Linked DNA regions of Homo sapiens: regions 1, 2, 3 and 4 are each linked to region 5. The links are contacts of gene promoters, found by promoter capture Hi-C in human tissues and cell types (Jung and others, 2019). All regions are on one chromosome and are shown on one strand. The core of a region is centred on a gene start or on the middle of the fragment in contact, and the rest is flanking DNA. Distances in the headings are between cores, read along the strand shown. Region 1 holds the start of GML (glycosylphosphatidylinositol anchored molecule like). Region 2 has its middle 19 kb from the start of GML. Region 3 has its middle 19 kb from the start of LY6D. Region 4 overlaps CYP11B1 (cytochrome P450 family 11 subfamily B member 1). Region 5 holds the start of LY6E (lymphocyte antigen 6 family member E).

The links. The method cuts DNA at HindIII sites, captures the fragments that hold promoters and counts their contacts. A contact is called where the count stands out against the background at its distance.
Region 1: a contact is called between the fragment with the promoter of GML here and the fragment with the promoter of LY6E in region 5, in 8 of the 25 tissues and cell types used here (H1 embryonic stem cells, adrenal gland, dorsolateral prefrontal cortex and 5 more).
Region 2: a fragment that was not itself captured here is called in contact with the fragment with the promoter of LY6E in region 5 in 2 of the 25 tissues and cell types used here (dorsolateral prefrontal cortex and lymphoblastoid cells).
Region 3: a fragment that was not itself captured here is called in contact with the fragment with the promoter of LY6E in region 5 in 1 of the 25 tissues and cell types used here (lymphoblastoid cells).
Region 4: a fragment that was not itself captured here is called in contact with the fragment with the promoter of LY6E in region 5 in 3 of the 25 tissues and cell types used here (liver, lymphoblastoid cells and spleen).

What each region holds. Positions count from the first base shown.
Region 1 is chr8:142,833,372-142,836,071 of GRCh38, reverse strand. GML (glycosylphosphatidylinositol anchored molecule like) reads right to left here and starts at 1,271. Exons shown (of 4, transcript NM_002066.3): 1 at 1,204-1,271. The HindIII fragment of the contact is 25,891 bases long and covers 1-2,700 here.
Region 2 is chr8:142,852,731-142,855,430 of GRCh38, reverse strand. No RefSeq gene overlaps it. Among named protein-coding and RNA genes, the nearest start is that of GML, 19 kb to the right of the region's middle. The HindIII fragment of the contact is 3,594 bases long and covers 1-2,700 here.
Region 3 is chr8:142,804,561-142,807,260 of GRCh38, reverse strand. No RefSeq gene overlaps it. Among named protein-coding and RNA genes, the nearest start is that of LY6D, 19 kb to the right of the region's middle. The HindIII fragment of the contact is 9,093 bases long and covers 1-2,700 here.
Region 4 is chr8:142,869,716-142,872,415 of GRCh38, reverse strand. CYP11B1 (cytochrome P450 family 11 subfamily B member 1) reads left to right here. Exons shown (of 9, transcript NM_000497.4): 9 at 1-59. Among named protein-coding and RNA genes, the nearest start is that of CYP11B1, 8.8 kb to the left of the region's middle. The HindIII fragment of the contact is 7,306 bases long and covers 1-2,700 here.
Region 5 is chr8:143,017,250-143,019,949 of GRCh38, reverse strand. It overlaps LY6E (lymphocyte antigen 6 family member E), which reads right to left and starts at 1,421. Exons shown (of 4, transcript NM_002346.3): 1 at 1,364-1,421. LY6E-DT (LY6E divergent transcript) reads left to right here and starts at 1,560. Exons shown (of 2, transcript NR_026913.1): 1 at 1,560-1,790. The HindIII fragment of the contact is 17,617 bases long and covers 1-2,700 here.

The DNA of each region.
Region 1 (2,700 bases), core at 22-2,521, 180 kb after region 5:
CAGTTTATCACAAAGGTGACAACTCAGGAACCGTGAAACGGAAGAGATGCATGGGGCAAATACAGGGTAAGCTTAAGATGGCTTCAGACAAAAAGAGTAGGAATATCTTATTATCAGCAGACCCACTACAAGAAATATTGAGTTCATAACATATATAGAAATAAAGTATATGACAATATCACAAAGCAAAGGAGGCTGTAGAACTGAAAGGCAGAAACAGTTACGTCAGCGTCGGCGAGTGCAGGCTTCCAGGCAAAAAACATTGCAAGAGGTGACAAGGACAGACACTTCAGAGCCGAATGCAGTTTCGGACACTGAGAGTCCATTTTCTGACTATGGTGGCATTAAGCAATAAGTCACCCCAGAAGGATTAACTGGAAAATCCTCATCTGTTTGGAACTTAAGAACACACCTCCAAATAAGAAATAGACCCCCAAATCCTTCTCAATAGAAGTCAAGAATATTTTGGGCAAAGTCATAATAAAGAATGAAAAATAGAAACCTGGCAGAAGTAGCCTGAAGGGACACGGAAGGAAAAGCAGGGCTCCATTAGAAAAGGCAAAAAGACTGGAAACGAAGGCCTCCTTCTCTCCTTCGAAAGCAAGGAGCCAGAAAAGAACGAGCAGCAGAACGTGGAACAGGCTGCGGCCCGAGACCCGCGCCTTGGGGAATCACAGACAGTGTGGGGGTGGGCGGCCCCGGGACACCCCGAGGGAAGGGGACTCAAGAACTGAACGGAGCCCCAGCCCCAGACTCTCGAGGGAAGTTGAGCTGTAAGGGGAGGGGGGCCCCAGGGAAGCGGAGTTGGGGTGCTGGCATCTCCCTGGGACCCCTGAGCATAGTTGGGGGGTCTCCCTGGGACCCTGATGGGAGTGGAGCTCGAGAGGTCCCCCAGTACCCCTGAGAGGAGCTGAATTAGGGGGTCTCCCTGGGACCCTGAGGGGAATGGAGCAGGGGGCGTCTCCCCAGGAACCTGCGGGGAGTGGAGTTTTGAGGGGTCCCCCTGGCACCCCTGAGAGGAGCTGAGTTCGGGGGGTCTCCCTGGGGCTCCGAGGGGAGTGGGGGCACCCCATCCAGGGAAGCGCGGCGCACCCCCGGCGGCGTCCTGGCGGCCCAAGCAGCTGACGAGGAGGCTGCCTCAGCTGGGCCCCTGGGCAGACTCCAGTCTCACGCCTGGGTCCCGACCCGCCTCAGGAAACTGACCTGTGCCCCTCGGAGCCCCGCAGTGTGCGTGCCCGCCGCCTCCAGCCATCTGAGCCTCCCGCGCCGACCTCCCCACCCGCTTTCTGGAACTTTCGGGGGCCTCCGCCGGCCGCACAGCCCCGCCCTCCTTCCGGACCCTCAAAGCCCCGTCCCCAGGCTCCAGGCCTCCAGCCCATCTGCCAGTGTTCAAAGGTGGGCAGGGTCCCCCTTGGGGCTCCCAGGTGAAAATATTTCTCACAGAAATCTGCACACCCTGGCTCCATCCACGCTCCCTTTAGGAAAGCCACGGGGAATGTTCTAGAAGCGCACGGCCCTGGCTGCTGGAGAAACGGGACAGCAGCCACCCTCGGCAGCCTGTTGGCACCGCCCAGGCCCACCCTGCCCTCAAGGTCCCAGTCCACCTGCCTCGTTCCTGGACCCTCCCTCTAGGGGGTCCCGCCATCACCATAACCCCTGGGGACCCCGGGAGCCCCTCCGCTCAGGGTGCGACCCCGTCGCCTCTGGAGCCGGCCCTGTCCCTAACCCTGACCAAAGCCAGCTTGAGCGGTGCCCTTGCCCTTCAGCCCCGCCAGCGCCCACCTGTGCAGAGGTTTCAGGGGGAGACCTGCCTGGCTTTCGCTTGAGCTCCTGCCATTTTGCCTTCAAGCTGTGTGTGGCCAGGGACAGCTGGCTTCACCCGAGCATCTCCTACACAGTGTGGCTTGGCTCTTGTCGAAGTCATATAAAATAGGTGAATTTCTGAAATTGAAATGTTTTATTTGGGAGGAAATAACTGCAATTAGGGGCACGGGGGCAGACTGGCTGGCCTTCAGTATGTCCAAAGAACAAAGAAAAGGCTTTTTTAAATTCGCGGTGGCTTACACCTGTAATCCCAGCATTTTGGGAGGCTGAGGCGGGCAGATCATTTGAGGTCAGGAGTTCAAGACCAGAGTGATCAACATGGTGAAACCCCGTCTCTACTAAAAATACAAAAATTAGCTGGGTGTGGTGGTGTGTGCCTGTAGTCCCAGCTACTCAGGAGGCTGAGGCAGGAGAATCCCTTGATCCCAGGAGGTGGAGGTTGTAGTGAGCCGAGATCGTGCCATTGTGCTCCAACCTGCAGGACAAATCAAGTCTCTGTCTCAAAAAAAAAGGAACTATGTCTCTTTTTTATAAAGAAGAGAAATAGTACATATTGCTGTCTGAGTTTCATTGGCACTAGTAGGATTTTGGGGAGCTGGCAAGCTCTGGTTGATGAGTGAATCAGTGACGGCAGTGGGTGAACCGAGGCTTAGAGTTGCAGCAGGTGGTCTCAGTAGCCATCAGATAAAACTGGTTTCAGGTTACCGCAGACAGTTTCAGCAGTCAGGCCTCAGAGAAGTACATTCTTGGAGCAATGTTTTCTATCCTGAGTGCTGAATGGTCTCCCTACCTGGCACTCTGCCTTAGTTGGGTGTGACAAGGGTGACCCAATTTGTATGCTCACCTTTCACACCGAATCCTCAGCTCGGACGGGTT
Region 2 (2,700 bases), core at 164-2,663, 160 kb after region 5:
CACCTGTTGTTTCCTGACTTGTTAATGATTGCCATTCTAACTGGTGTGAGATGATATCTCATTGTGGTTTTGATTTGTATTTCTCCAATGACCAGGGGTGATGAGGATTTTTTCATGTGTCTGTTGGCTGCATAAATGTCTTCTTTTGAGAAGTGTCTGTTCATATCCTTTGCCCACTTTATGATGGGGTTGTTTGATTTTTTTCTTGTAAATTTAAGTTCTTTGTAGATTCTGGATATTAGCCCTTTGTCAGATGGGTAGATTGCAAACATTTTCTCCCATTCTGTAGGCTGCCTGTTCACTCTGATGGTGGTTTCTTTTGCTGTGCAGAAGCTGTTTAGTTTAATTAGATCCCATTTATCTATTTTGGCTTTTGTTGCCATTGCTTTTGGTGTTTTAGTCATGAAGTCCTTTCCCATGCCTATGTCCTGAATGGTATTGCCTAGGTTTTCTTCTAGGGTTTTTATGGTTTTAGGTCTAACATTTAAGTCTTTAATCCATCTTGAATTAATTTTTGTATAAGGTGTAAGGAAGGGATCCAGTTTCAGCTTTCTACATATGGCTAGCCAGTTTTCCCAGCACCATTTATTAAATAGGGAATCCTTTCCCCATTTACTTTTGTCAGGTTTGTCAAAGGTTAGATGGTTGTAGGTGTGTGGTGTTATTTCTGAGGCCTCTGTTCTGTTCCATTGGTCTATTTCTCTGTTTCAGTACCAGTACCATGCTGTTTTGGTTACTGTAGCCTTGTAGTATAGTTTGAAGTCAGGTAGTATGATGCCTCCAGCTTTGTTCTTTTGGCTTAGGATTGTCTTGGCAATGCAGACTCTTTTTTGGTTCCATACGAACTTAAAGTAGTTTTTTCCAATTCTGTGAAGAAAGTCATTGGTAGCTTGATGGGGATGGCATTGAACCTATAAATTACCTTGGGCAGTATGGCCATTTTCACGATATTGATTCTTCCTATCCATGAGCATGGAATGTTCTTCCATTTGTTTGTGTCCTCTTTTATTTCATTGAGCAGTGGTTTGTAGTTCTCCTTGAAGAGGTCCTTCACATCCCTTGTAAGTTGGATTCCTAGGTATTTTATTCTCTTTGAAGCAATTGTGAATGGGAGTTCACTCATGATTTGGCTCTCTGTTTGTCTGTAATGGGTGTACAAGAATGCTTATGATTTTCGCACATTGATTTTGTATCCTGAGATTTTGCTGAAGTTGCTTATCAGCTTAAGAAGATTTTGGGCTGAGACAATGGGGTTTTCTAAATATACAATCATGTCATCTGCAAACAGGGACAATTTGACTTTCTCTTTTCCCAATTGAATACCCTTTATTTCCTTCTCTTGCCTGATTGCCCTGGCCAGAACTTCCAACACTATTTTGAATAGGAGTGGTGAGAGAGGGCATCCCTGTCTTGTGCCAGTTTTCAAAGGGAATGCTTCCAGTTTTTGCCCATTCAGTATGATAGTGGCTGTGGGTTTGTCACATATAGTTCTTATTATTTTGAGATACATTCCATCAATACCTAGTTTATTGAGAGTTTTTAGCAAGAAAGGCTATTGAATTTTGTCAAAGGCCTTTTCTGCATCTATTGAGATAATCATGTGGTTTTTGTCTTTGGTTCTGTTTATACGCTGGATTACATTTATTGATTTGCCAATGTTGAACCAGCCTTGCATCCCAGGGATGAAGCCAACTTGATCTTGGTGGCTAAGCTTTTTGATATGCTGCTGGACTCGGTTTGCCAATATTTTATTGAGGATTTTTGCATCGATGTTCATCAGGGATATTGGTCTAAAAAAATTCTCTTTTTTTTGTTGTGTCCTTACCAGGCTTTGGTATCAGGATGATGCTGGCCTCATACAATGAGTTAGGGAGGATTCCCTCTTTTTCTATTGATTGGAATAGTTTCAGAAGGAATGGTACCAGCTCTTCTTTGTACCTCTGGTAGAATTCAGCTGTGAATCCATCTGGTCCTGGACTTTTTTTGGTTGGTAGGCTGTTAACTATTGCCTCAAATTCAGAGCCTGTTATTGGTCTATTCAGCGATTCAACTTCTTCCTGGTTTAGTCTTGTGAGGGTGTATGTGTCCAGGAATTTATTCATTTATTCTAGATTTTCTAGTTTATTTGCATAGAAGTGTTTATAATATTCTCTGATAGTAGTTTGTATTTCTGTGGGATTGGTGGTGATATCCCCTTTATCATTTTTGTCTATTTGATTTTTCTCTCTTTTCTTATTAGTCTTGCTAGCAGTCTATCAGTTTTGTTGATCTTTTCAAAAAACCAGCTCCTGGATTCACTGATTTTTTGAAGGGTTTTTTGTGTCTCTATCTCCTTCAGTTCTGCTCTGATCTTAGCTATTTCTTGCCTTCTGCTAGCTTTTGAATGTGTTTGCTCTTGCTTCTCTAGTTCTTTTAATTGTCATGTTAGGGTGTCAATTTTAGATCTTTCCTGCTTTCTCTTGTGGGCATTTAGTGCTATAAATTTCCCTCTACACACTGCTTTAAATGTGTCCCAGAGATTCTGGTACATTGTGTCATCGTTCTCATTGGTTTCAAAGAACATCTTTATTTCTGCCTTCATTTCGTTATTTACCCAGTAGTTATTCAGGAGCAGGTTGTTCAGTTTCCATGTAGTTGTGCAGTTTTGAGTGAGTTTCTTAATCCTGGGTTCTAATTTGATTGCAGTGTGGTCTGAGAGAC
Region 3 (2,700 bases), core at 123-2,622, 210 kb after region 5:
GCTGATGGGGCAGCAGGGGAGAAGCGTGTTCAGGGTACAAGGGAAGGCCTGGGAAAGGCTGAAGGTGAGTGTAAGTGTCTCATGCAAGGGGTAGAGAGGACTGGAGCCAATCCCAGTGGGGAGGGCAGACAGGATGAGGAGGGGGAGGTGGAAGGAGACCAGAAGGGGAGCCATCCTGAAGCAGGGAGACATTGGGGGTTGGAGGAGAGACTCCCAGGGGATTTGAGCTTGTGAGCTGCTGCCCCTCAGCCTCCAGAACCCCAGAGAGACCCTGAGGATAGAAATGGGGCCAGCCCCACTGTAAACAGGCCATGTCCCGTGACCCTAGAATATCCCTGTCACCCCACAGTCCCCCAGGCCTGGCCTGGGGTTGGATGGGTAGTGATTCAGACATGGCCAGGCTGCCCTGTGCACCTTGGCTCTGCCACTGGCCCAAGCTAAGCCTACCCTAGACAGGCAACACCACCCCAAGGAGCCTGCACCATTCCAGGCCCCGCCCAGGCCTCCACAGCCAGCATTTCGACCGGATCCTAGGTGATTTGTGTGCACACTGAAGATTAAGAAGCACTGGCTCAAAGCTTCCAGCCTCCAGTGCCTCAGTTTCCCCATTAGAATGGGTTTGGTGACCCCTGCCTACCCTGGTGCAAGGGAGAGTGCAGAGGGGAGGGGGCCATAGATATTCAGAAGCACCAGGGATGAGGCTGTACCTACTCAGAAGCGGCGGGGAGGGGGCTGTACGTACTCAGAAGCGGCGGGGAGGGGCTGCACATACTCAGAAGCAGCGGGGAGGGGGCTGTACGTACTCACAAGTGCGCTGGGCAGTCCCCCCAGGCTGCAGAGGTAGAGCCATGACCCTCTGAGAACACCCAGGACAGGGCCCAAGCTGCAGGGAGTAGGGGCCCAGAGGCTCAGGACCAAGGGACAGCAGAGAGGGGGGCACAGGAGCCTTCTGAGAGTCCTGGAGGTGGGGCAGAGTGAGGCCTAGTGGCATGAGTCAGGCCGGCCCTGCTCTCCCCAGCGCATCTTCCGGCTAAATTACCAGGTCTGGCTCAGTCGCCGGCCACCATATAAAGGCGCCTTTGCACTGTGGCTCCCAGTCCCTGGCGGACAACCCCGCGATGAGGCTTCTCCTGGTGCTGCTGCTTCTGGCTGCTGTGTGTGCTGCCCTGGGTAAGACGCTGGCCACACCAGGGGAGGGACAGGGGCAGGTGGCTCCTGGGCTGGGCACCCCGGGACCGGGCGCTGGCAGGGCAGGCTTTGCCAAGGATCACCAGCCTGGACTGCGGGCTGCAGGGAGTTGGGGGAGGCCTCTTCCTATGGGCACAGCTTCTGGTGTCTTTGTGGCTTGTGTGGGGAAAGCCCCGATGCTGGTCCTGGGTTCCAGCCTGGGTTCCATCCCCCTTTTCCCAAGACAGAGGGGAATTCTTGGGATGTTGGACTCTGAGTGCTAAAAAAGAAAGTCCTAAGAAAACCAGGGCTAGTTGGTCACCGCCCTAGCCCCACTCTACCCTGACCTTGATGACCTGGCTTTGGGGCCTGAAAAGGGGCCAGGAGGCAGGGGGTGTGGGTGGGAGGGACAGAGCATGTGATTATCAGCTGAAAAATTATCATCTAGCGATAATTAGCCCCATCAGCTTCTCCTGAGCGTGGGGTGAGGGTAGGGGGGAAGTGGGGAGGGCTGGAGACTTTGGAGAGCAGCCCCAGCTTGAGGAGGGGCCTGCAGTGGGAAGGCTGGAAAGACAGATGGAGGGGGCATCAGGAAAGGGCAGGAGTCAAGGTCAGGCTGCCCAAGCTGATCGGATCCCTCCAGCCCCTATACGGAAGGGCACAACCCTTCCATATATCAGGGCACAACCATGGGAGAGAAGGGGCCAAGGGTGCTAAGTCAGGACATGGGGACACTGGCCTGGGACACCTGTGCTCTCTGGGGCTTACTTTGCTTTTCTGGAAAGTTGGCCCATATGATGCTGACGGTCAGACAGCACCTGCTGGGAGCTGGTCACTGCTCCCAGGATCTAATGAGGGTGACCCCTTCATTCCCATCACAGCCCGAGGGCTTAGGGATTACCAGGATCCCTACGGAGAAGTGGCGGTAATGTAAGGTCCTTGTTCAGAGGAACCTAGGAGTGTTTCCCGGCCCCACCAGCACCAGGAACCCAGCTGTAGGCAGGGAGAGCAAGAAAGGTCAGGGTCAGACCCCAAGAACATGGATATCAGCTGCACAGGTGCGGAAGATGCAATCACCCCACGCAGCAGGCACTCGCTCTGAAGTCAGAGCAGGTGTGCTTTGCCCAGGGAACTGCTACAGGACACCCCCATCAAGACCACCCTACAGGAAGCCTACAGGGCACCCGTTATAGAAAACCCCTACAGAACATACCTAAAAGACACCCCTACAGAACACCCCCTAAACAACATCCCCTACAGAATACCCCATAAAAGACACATCTACAGGACATTCCCTACAGAGCACCGCCTGCAGTACACCCTTACAGGACCCCTGTACAGGGCACTGCTACGGGACACTCCCTACAGGACACCCTTACAGGAAACCCCTACAGGACACCCCTGCAGAACACCCCTAGAGGACACCCCTACAGAACATCTCTACAGGACGCCCCTACAGAACACCCCCTACAGGAAACCCCTTCAGGACACCCCTACAGGACCCCCGTACAGGGGCACTGCTTGAAGACACTC
Region 4 (2,700 bases), core at 62-2,561, 150 kb after region 5:
GTTTCAAGCAACTCCAAAATTGAATGTGACAAACAGTATTAAACCTTAAGCCTCAAGAATAATCTCCTTTGACTGGATTTTCCATCTTCTGAACATAGTGGTGCAGGGATTGTTTCCCTCAGGGCTTCAGGATGCTCTGCCCCTGCAGCTTGGCTGGGTGCAGCTGCAGTGCAGCTCTCATGAGTTGGAGTTGCATTCCTGCAGGTCTCCCAGACTGGAATGACTCACCGGTAGCTTCACCTACCTGGGATCCTGGGCTGTCCTGCTCTGCTGCCTCCACTAGGCATGGCTTTCACAGCAGCCCTCTGCCTCAGTCTTGTGCCTGAAGTTGTGGGCCACTCCACCCTTTGATATCCAGGTGCAGGCTTCCACACCCCACAGCTCATGCAACCTTCACTCCAGCAGAGATGACCCTATGTTGACACCACCAAGGTTTACTACATGTGCCCTCTGGAGGGGCAGCCACTGTGGCACATGACCCACATAAGCTTACTGGAGCCCACTTGGGGTGGTCAATGAACAGAACTCCAGAATGTGGGGAGCAGAGCCTTGAGGTAGCACAAGGGAGTGAGTGCCAAGGTCTTACAGAAAAATATAGCCCATCCTTTAAAAATATTCTGTCCCCCTAGACTCTTGCACTTTGGGTGTGTGGTGACAGTGGCAGCCCCAGTTATTTCTAAAATGCCTCCAGGGTCATTCTTCCATTGTCTTGGTGAACAACACCTGGCTGATCCATACTAATCTTATCAAATGGTCCCTTGGCCACACCCTTGGTGCTGTCTCCAGAACATGCTTTCTCATATTTTGCAATATGGACAGACTGGCAATTTCCCAAATCTTTAAGTTCTGCTTCCCTTTTGATTTAAAAAAAAATCCATCTTCAAATTATTTTTCTCTTCTTCTATTTTACTATAAACATTCAAGAGCACCAAGTTGCACCTTAAACACTTGGCTTAGAAATCTCTTCAGCCAAATATCTTATTTAATTACTCACCAGTTCTACTCTACATAAAACACTAGGACATAAAGTCAATTCAGCCAAGTTCTTTGCCAGTTTATAACAAGGACTACCTTTCCCCCAGTTTCCAAATAACATGTTCCTTATTTCTGTTTGAAGTCCCATAAGAATGGTTTTTATCATCTATATTTCTAGTACCATTCTGTCCATGGCCACTTAGATATTCTCTAAGAAGATGGAGGCTTTCTTTACAGCCCTCCTCCTCTTGTTCTGAGCCCTTACCAGCAGCATCCTTCAGGGCCTGCTCATGGTGACATAGGCTTTCTCTAGCATGCACTTCAAAACCCTTCTAGCCTCTACCCAATTACCCAGCAGCACCCCATCTTTCAGTACCAATCTTCTGTCTTAGTTTATTCAAGCTGCTATAACAAAGCACCACAGACTGGGTGGCTCGGAAACAACAGAGATTTGTTGCTCACAGATCTGGAGCCTGAGACATCTGAGATCAAGGTGCTGGCAGATTTGGTGTCTGGGGAGGGTCTATTTCCTGAGTCATAGATAGGACATTCTTACTGTGTCCTCACATGATGGAAAGAAATGAAGAAGCTCTCTGGGGACTCTTTTGTGTGGGCACTTTCACTTTCAACAGCATTTTTCAGCTTTACTTGCACTTATCCTGAAAAATTTCCTGTACATGTATCCAGCAGTGGAATTTAAAAAAACAAACAAGCAAGGATTGGCAATAGGGTTTGGAGGAGCCAGGACCCAGATATCCAAGATAGCAGGCAGGGTCTTTTTTGGAAAAGAGCACAGTCTAGCCCTGCTCACATGTCTCAGCCCTTTTACTGATAGAGAGGGACTGTTGGGCTCTCTTCTTCCTTAAGAGTTGTCCTTGGAAATGTCCACCTCTGGCTGGAAAATAATTCCCCAGCTCCAGCCTTCTCACTCTCCTAGGTGAAGGTGTGTGAGTGTTGTGTGGAGAAGGGCACAAGCCTGAGGCAGCACAGGGGAAGGTGTCCTTGAGGATGGCAGAAACTCTGCTTTGCCTGAAGAACCTGTAATGGCCTCCCTGAGGGAGCTGCCTTGCAAGACACTGTTGATTTGTCTCAGAACCTACTGCACCATCTCTCTTTCCTTCTAGACCTAGAGCTACACTTAAGTACCAGCAGGCCCCAAAAGATGAGGTAAAAGTGTGACCCAGGAGGAGCTGTGCTACACTCTAAAACAACCATGTGCCATTCCCAATACATGCAGATGCATCAGGGGAAAACAAGTGGAAATGAATTTTAAGTGGGTGGGATCATGGTTGAACAAAAGAAAAGTTAGATTCAGGCTGAATTTATTGATATGGGCCCTCCAAGCAGAGATTCTGGATAGTTTGAGAGTTAGAAATGGGCTCTAATAGTCTGGTTGGTTGGCTGAAATATGAACAAAATATGGCCGACATGAAATGAATGCCAGGACAATCTTAGTTCACCATAGAGGAACATATCCAAAGCCTGAAGGAGAGTGAAATGATAAAGCAGATTGATCATGTAAGATCTGTGCCAATCCACGGAGGCCACCCATCCCCGGAGGCCCAAGGAAGTATCTTTCACCATGACTGTCAGAAATCAATTTGGGAAGGGAGTTTTTTTATCCTTGAAGAGCTCTGTGGGCACTCTTCTCTGCAGGTCAGGCATCATAGTGGGAGCTGCTGGCACTTAACTGGGATCCTTAAAGGCAGCGGAAATAATTGCAGT
Region 5 (2,700 bases), core at 172-2,671:
GTCGCTGTACTGCTCCTCGGCCTCTGCACAGGACCCTCTGCACTGCTGGAGAAAGAATCTGGAACACACCCAGCTGGGGTCGTGATTCTCTGTTTTGTGAGTGCATGGTGTTGGAGGGGGAGGCTGCTGCCTTCTGTCAGGGACAGCCGTGGGCAGAGGAGTGGGAGGGACATCCCGGGCCTGGGGAGCTAGTGCTGGGCACTGGGGGTAAGGAGGATGCCTCAGAGAACAGATCTGGAGAGGGGCCCGCAGAGGCCCTAAGGGGAGAGCAGCAGGCCAGGACAGTGAGACCTGGGCTGACATCCTGGGGTTGGGAGTGGGAGCCCCAGGTGGCCAAAAACAGTGCCAAGTCCGGCTGGGGCCTATCCCCGCCTCCAGGGAGTAGCCCGAGGAGGAAGGATCTCCAATTCCTTTTCCCCCCACCCCCCTAAAGTGAGGTTCTGGTGTGGGGGGGTCCCTGAGCTGTCTCTGAGGAAGTCCTAGCATACAGGGCCACAAACAGGTCCAGCTGGTGCCGCCACCTGCTCACTGGGTGGCACCCAACCCGCTGGGCCACCAGGCTGAGCTAAGGCACCGGTGGGAGCCGAAGGCAATTAGGAAGGCCGGGTGGGCCATGGAGCCCGGAGGGAGCCAGCCGGCAGGCCGTGGGGGGCGCCCCTGGGGCCCAGGCTGCAGGCTCATGGCTCATCCCCAGGCTCAGGGAAGCTGGCCCCTGGGAGCCAGGTATCTAGGGGCTGCCCAGCCAGCAAGGGGCGGGAGCCTCTCCTGTGTCCCGGAACGGGGAGGGGCCCGGCGGTCCACTCAGGGAGGCTGGGCTCCTTGGACCTCACCGCAAGCACCACCAGTGCCAAAACAAGAAGCGGGGGCGGGTTCCAGTGCTCCGGGGTGATATGCCGGGGGCGGTCAATCCTCCCTTTCCGGCCAGGAGCTCTGCAAGGTCCCGTGCCCCCTCCCCTAGTCCTCAAGGCTGTCCCTCCCGGCCCACGTAGAGGAGCCAGGAGCGTCTGGAGTTGGGTGATGGGCTCCAGTGGCTGCGCAGCCCTGGGGCGGCCGGGAGGCTCCTGGCGGCAGTCTCCGCCCGCTCCCGCCCCAGATCTTTGGAAACATTCGGGGAGGCCTGCGGGGGATGGGAGGAGAAGCTCAGCTCTCTGGGGACCAACCCACCGGCAGCCCCAGCCCCTCTCCTGCGCCTCCCCGTGCGCCCCTCTTGCTCTCTCCCACCCTCTCCCGCCCCGGCCCCCGCAGGGCGCCTTCCGCCGCGCGTGGCTGAGCCGGGGCCGCGTGCACCGCAGCCGAGGCCGCCGGGTCTGAGCGCGTGCGCGCAGGTGGCGGGGGCGTCCCGGCCGGGGGCCCGCGGACTCACCGCCGGGCGGACGCAGGTACCAGCAGCCTGGCCGAGCTCCCCGAACCTCGCGCGCTCTGGACCGCGGCTGGCCCGGAGCCTCCCAGGCAGCCGCGCGGCCCCGGGGCGGGGGCAGGGGCGGGACGCGGGAGGGGCCTCCGGCGGGCGGAGTCGGCGAGCCCGCGGTGGGGGTCCCCGCGCCGCCCAGGCCTACCCCGGCTCCTTGGGATAGATGGGGAAGCTGAGGCCCAGAAGGGGGCTGAGACCACCTCCCAGTTTCCCCAGTGAGGTGGCGCCTGAGCCACGGCCAGGCCCGGCCTCCTTCCACCCGGCCCTGCTGTGCGCGCGGCGGGTGCTGACCTGGCGAGGCCGGACAGGGGACCAGGTCGGGGTGACCGTCACTGACACCTGGACAGTCCTCGTTGTGTTCGGGGTGGGAAGCCCACGGGTGAGCAGACGTGTTTGGGTGTGAGCACGGAGGAGGGGTGCCTCGGAGAGTGTCGGGGAGCAGTGTTGGGGGTCTCGCCTGCGGAGTGGAGCTCGGGAGGGGAGGACGCAGGCACCCCCGCAGCCTGGGATTCCTGAGGTCATCTTGTCCCTGCTTCCCGCTCCAGGCTGGGCTGTTCCTTGGCCATCCCTCAGGCGGGGGTGGGGAGACCGGCAAGGGTTGGGAGGTGGGAGGTTGTGGGTGCTGGCTTCTGCGAGGGCACTGAGGCTCTGCCATCGGTGGGTGCCTCTCCTCCCGCCAGGCCCTCTCCGAGGGGCTGTGGGCGCTGGGGCTCTGCCACCGGCCTGTTCTCCAGTTGACAGTGCGTTTCCTTTCTGGGTGACAGGGCGAGCACCAGGGAGGGGTCTTCTGAACCCCACACGGGAGTAGGGGGAGGGTGTGCGGAAATGTGAGGGTGGGCAGGTGGCCATGTGGTCAGGAGGGGGCTGGGGCTGACAGACACCTGTAACACCCCTGTCTCAAATCTAGGGGTGCAGTCAATGTGGCTGTGTGTGTGTTTTGCATGAGTGAGTGTGTGTGGTGCGTGTGTGTGTGTGTATGGAGGCTGAGGCTGGGGCTGTGTGTGTCACGAGATGTCCTGGCCGTGGTATGATGGCATCGTGGGTGGGGCTTCCACAGCTTTGGGGGCGATGGCCCAGCTGTCTCTGGGGACAGGAGCCTCCAGTAGGCTGTGGCCCGGGGGAGTCCCTGCCTCTGGGTCTTACGTGGGGCACAGGCAGGGCATCTTCCCCTCTGGAATGTTGGCGGTGAGGGCAGGGGGTTCTGTCTCTGCAGCCGGCACCTGGGGCCATCCCTGCCATGGCAGGGGCTCAGTAAGAACTGTGGGACGAAAGCACGGGTGGGTTTGCCC